Linked DNA regions of Homo sapiens: region 2 is linked to region 1. The links are contacts of gene promoters, found by promoter capture Hi-C in human tissues and cell types (Jung and others, 2019). All regions are on one chromosome and are shown on one strand. The core of a region is centred on a gene start or on the middle of the fragment in contact, and the rest is flanking DNA. Distances in the headings are between cores, read along the strand shown.

What was found. The method cuts DNA at HindIII sites, captures the fragments that hold promoters and counts their contacts. A contact is called where the count stands out against the background at its distance.
Region 2: a fragment that was not itself captured here is called in contact with the fragment with the promoter of BTBD8 in region 1 in 1 of the 25 tissues and cell types used here (mesenchymal stem cells).

What each region holds. Positions count from the first base shown.
Region 1 is chr1:92,078,949-92,081,648 of GRCh38, reverse strand. It overlaps BTBD8 (BTB domain containing 8), which reads right to left and starts at 1,304. Exons shown (of 18, transcript NM_001376131.1): 1 at 929-1,304. The coding sequence starts at 1,077. RefSeq lists an enhancer at 1-31. The HindIII fragment of the contact is 3,183 bases long and covers 415-2,700 here.
Region 2 is chr1:92,422,972-92,425,671 of GRCh38, reverse strand. No RefSeq gene overlaps it. Among named protein-coding and RNA genes, the nearest start is that of GFI1, 63 kb to the left of the region's middle. The HindIII fragment of the contact is 5,594 bases long and covers 1-2,700 here.

The sequences.
Region 1 (2,700 bases), core at 55-2,554:
TGAGCCGAGATCGCGCCACGGCGCTCCAGCCTGGGCGACAGAGCGAGACTCCGTCTCCAAAAAAAAAAAAGTAGAATGCTGCACAACTTTTAATTATTAGTAATTATGTTTACCTCAGTGGTTCTCATAGTCACCCTAGCCAGCAGCATTAGCATCACTTGGGGCCTTGTTAGAAATGGAAAATTTCAGTGATGCCCACCCAAGTTTAAGAATCAATGTCTTGCTGGAAATGTAAATTAGCTAGGTCATATTTCTAAGCTTCAATTTCTTTGTAAGCTGAAATTACTTTAGCTGGATTCCCAATAACCCGAGAAGGATATCCATGAGGCTTACAAAGGTTAAATGTCAGGAAGACCCTCCATTTGCTTTGGTCCTCACAGGAGCTGAGAGTTGCTGGGAGCTACAGAGAGCTCTAGGTGGAGAGAGGAATCCAGGTCGCAATCAGGAAGCATTTCTGGTAAATTGTTTAAAGAGACCTCAGAAGAGACCTCCAAGACTATAGTATTGTTCTTTCCTCATTTCAAATAATCGTTTTCCTAATTTTATTATTTTTCTTAAAATAGTATAAGCTTATTTTAAAAATTGTGTAAGTTTCAGGACCTGGATCCACCCGACCTTAGTGATTGGAAACAACTAAGCGTGCCTGTGTTGAGATATTTCTAGCAAACTAGTGCTGCACACGACTAAGCTTTTTTTGTTTTCCTTTTGAATCTGGTACATGGTGTCGAGGTGCTCGGGATTGTTTATTCAGGGCGAGCGAAGCCACTTTTCGGAATAGTGGGGAGACTGGCTAACGACCCGCAGTCGCCTGAGGCGAGGAGAACCAAGTGCTGAGGGAGGGGGAGGCAGAGCCGAAAGAAGCCTCAGCTTCGGGGCGGAGGTGGGCGATTTAGGAACTGAAGCAGCCAGAGTTCCCGCCTCCTCCTACCTGAGCAAATCCTGGCTGAGCTGCTCCGACACCGTCGCCTTCAGCCGGCGCCGCTCACACGGCCCCTTCCTTTGCAACCCCTTACTGCAAACTCCAGCGGACCCCAGAAGTACCATGGGGGCCGCACTGCCTTCCCCACAGCGAGCCATGTCTCACAGAGGTACGACGCCCTGGAGGCCCAGTACTTGGCCTCACTTGCCCCGCCCAGGAGGAAGAAGGGGGCGTTTCCGACCGAACGCTCGGCTCCTACCCAAATCCGCCCCCTAGGGTAAAAGGTTGACGCCTCTCGTCGGTTTGTAGACAGTCTCCCAGAGAAGCCGGACCGCGGTGGGGAGCCTCAGAATCCCAGAACCGAGCCGGCTCTTGACCCAGGAAGAGCGTGCGCAGGCGTACTCGCTCTGTTTACTTCTGCCGGCGGGCACCCCGCCTCCCATGGCTCAGGCGCGGACCATCCCGCGGGGCAAACCAATCCTCAGGCTCCTTATCCCCTCCCCTCTTCTTTCCCTTCCGGTTGGTGTTCATTCATTTCAATGTTTTACTGAGGCTCGAGTTCAAATCAGCACATGCAGCCTTTCTATGCTGTGTCTTCCTGACAGGTCTACACTTTTTTCCAACGAAAGACTGGGCGAGTCACACCCCCTCACTTACCTGGCTTCTTAACCCTGAGGTATAAATGTTTGGGGCAAGAAAAATTGGCGATGGGAGGAGTAGGGGAAGAACTTCATAAACTGCCAGTCAGAACAATTCTGAGTTCAATATAAGAGATACTTACAGCATCTAGAAGGCCCCATCCCCTTCTTATCCAAGGAGTGGCTCATACAAGCTTTTGGACTTGATCGGAGAAAGCACAGGGCTTTGCATATAAAGCCCTAACATTTATGACCAAGAAGGGAGAAATAGGTAAGGGGCAAAGTCTTTGAGCAGTGAAGTGATGGATGGATGAAATATAGAATTCTCTTTTGTCCCAAATAAAGTAGCAAACTGATTATCATTTAAGGTTTTGGTATTTTTTATTTGATTACTGCCTCCAAAATAAGGAAACTCAGTAGTTCCGCTTCGGGCCGGGCAAGTCCCATCTACTTGGGAAGCGAGGCGGAATGATGGCTTGAGCCCGGGAGGTCGAGGCTGCAGTGAGCCATGATTGCACCACTGCACTCCAGCCTGAACAGCACAGCAAGACCCTGTCTCAAAAAAAAAAAAAAAAAAAAAAATCTGTTTCATTCACAAACTCTACACACAAGGTGAAGAATAGTAATTGCTTGGAAAATACATTGGCCAGGTTGCGGTGGCTCACACCTGTAATCCCAGCACTTTGGGAAGCCAAGGCGGGAGGATCACTTGAGCCCAGGAATTAGAGACCAGCCTGGGCAACATAAGGAGACCCTGTCTCTACCAAACAAAAAAAAAAAAAAAGGAGGCGGGGAGGGGAATATATGGACTTTGTATTTGTACCATAAGATTGGCCAAGAGGTAACCATTTCTTCAGATAATGCCCCCTCTCAAATATTCAGACATCTTAATTCTGAAAAATATAACTGGATAATTGATTTTTTAAAATTAATTCCCAAATGCTTGGATGGATAATTGATTCTTAATTATTCCTGTAGAAACGAGGGGTGTCAAAGATAACATAATAGTAGCTTATATTTGAATCCTTATTATGTGATAAACGCTACTCTATTTGCTCTGTGTGTTTTAACTCAGTTAATCCTTACAACAACCATTTAGCTAGGTACTGTCTTCAGACCTATTTACAGATGAGGAAGCTGAGG
Region 2 (2,700 bases), core at 100-2,599, 340 kb before region 1:
CAGGTACCCTCTTCTCTGCCCAGGGCAGGCTTCTCCTATTATTTCCTCTCATATAGCTTCAATTTCTCCCTTCTTTTCCCTTGACCCATAAACAAGCTCAAATCTTCCTCGAACTATAGAAGCCTCTACCATGTTTCCCTCAAAGCTAATCCCTTCCTCCTTTCTCTATTGTCAAGCTCTTAGTATTTTTCATTACAAAAGTAATATATATTTATAGTAGAAAAATGGAAAGTACAAATAACTAAACATGTTTCAAACACTTGTAATCACACTTCTGGAGGTAACTACTGAGGTTCACATTCTGGTTTATATCCTTCAAATCTTATTTCTGTGCATATATAATATTCATTTATTTCAACATTGAGAGCATTCTGGATGTTATATTTTGTAATCTGACACTTCTACTCTACCAGTAAGTATTCTACCACATTATTTTTTAATCATGGCATTAAACTTTTCATTATATGGATGCATTATAATTTATTTAGCCATTTTAAACCATAACCACAAGGTTATTCTCAATTATTTGCTATAATTAGTAACAGTACAACCTTTGTGATACATCTTTGCACATATTTCTGATTATTTCTTTAATATAAATTTCTGAAGGGGAATTACTGAGTGCATCTTATAAGTATTTGGATACATAGCTTTTGCAAAACATAAATATTTTGAAAGAGTAGCCTACTGTCGTCACTTCAACTTTAAATCCCATTCACTAAATTCCAAGCAAACGTAACCCTTTCACTGTCACTGAAATCGTTCTGTCAGAGGTCAAGGTCAATATTAATTACTAATCACAAGTCTTCTCAGGAATTAGCCTCCCTAATCTCTTTGCAGCAACTGCCACTTCCTATCTTTCCCTTTTAAATGTTTTTCCTTCTGTTTTACTTGGTCCTTCCACCTCTGTGGTAACACCTTTTCAGGCTTTTTTCTGGTTCCCTGTTTTTTTGCCTGACGTTTTCCTCATGCTTTACCCTACCCAGATCTCCAACTGTCGAGTTTATGTCAATGCCACTTAAATCTTGGCATAAATGTCAGCACGGCCTGATTTTGAGGTCTGCCCACCTCTCCAGCCTCGTGTGTCACCACTCTCTCCTGACTGCTTCCTCTTCTCCTTGGCTCTTGCATGTACTTTATGGTCCAGTCATTCTCAGCTACTCCCATTTTCTTGAGATTTTTATGCTTTTGCTGATGTGCTCTGTGCTTAGAAATCCCTTCTTCCATCTACACTTGATAAAGCTTTACTTATCCTTCAAGATTTCACTCCCTTCTCCTATGGGAGGCTGTGTGTAAAAAATAATGTTAAAAAAAGTTTAAAAGATTTACCTCTTTTGGGAAGTTCCATGACAACCCCCCACTTTCACTCTTTTATGACCCTTCACCCCGTTGGAGTGGCTGAGCAGGAGGAGCTCCTGTGTGTTCTCAGGTTCATGCTTTTCTCCTTGTGCTGTATTATAACTGTTTCCTCATCACTGTTCTCCTGTGAACTCCTGGAAGGCAGGAATTGTGTCTTTGAACATTATGTCTCCAGAATGTAGCATGGTGCTTGGTGTCTAGTAGAGACCTGTAGTAAACATCTTCCATCCTTTGGTCAAATTATATCCTGATCTTCCTCTGGGGACCTGTCCACTGTCTTCCGTTGAGCCATAGGTTTGGATGGGACTGACCTCATCCTACCTCCAAGAATAGGTTCCTCCAATTACAGCAAGTGAGAAGAAAACATACTAAAGCTTTTTTTAATGAAACAAAAATACGTTTCTAAACAGGTTCTTGCTGTGTTGCCCAGGCTGGAGTGCAGTGCCCATTAGTGCCCATTCGTAGGTGAAATCCCACTACTGATTAGCATGGGAGTTTTGACCTGTTCCGTTTTAACCTGCGCTGTTTCTCCTTAGGCAACTGGAGAATAAACATTTTTTGGAAAGAAAAGCTTCCTTTCTGTTCTGTGGCAGCAATTAGAAGAGATGTGCTTTTGGCTGGGCACGGTGGCTCATGCCTGTAATCCCAGCACTTTGGGAGGCTTGAGGCAGGCAGATCACCTGAGGTCAGGAGTTCGAGACCAGCCTGACCAACGTGGAGAAACCCCATCTCTACTAAAAATACAAAATTAGCCGGGTGTGGTGGCGCATGCCTGTAATCCCAGCTACTCAGGAGGCTGAGGCAGGAGAATTGCTTGAACCCGGGAGGCAGAGGTTGCAGTGAGCCAAGATTGCACCATTGCACTCCAGCCTGGGCAACAAGAGCGAAACTCCATCTCAAAAAACAAAGCAAACAAACAAACAAAAAAAAACAAAAAGGAAACCACAGCCTGTGATCTCTGAGCAAGCTTTTACATCAGAAAACCAGATTTTAAAAATTTAATTTAATTTTAATTTTTTTTTGAGACAGCTTCTCACTGTGTCACCTGGGCTTGAGTACAGTGGGGCCATCATGTCTCACTGCAGCCTCAATCTCCTGGGCTCAAGCAATTCTCCTGCCTCAGTCTCCCGAGTAGCTGGGACTACAAACATGTGCCTCCATGCACAGCTAATTTTTTTATTTTAATTTTGTGGAGACAGGGTCTCACTATGTTGTCCAGGCCGATCTTGAACTACTGGACTCAAGCAATCCTCCTGCCTCAGCCTCCCGAAGTGTTGGGATTATAGGCGTCAGCCATGGCATCCAGCCAGGAAGCCAGATCTTTTTTTTTTGAGACGGAGT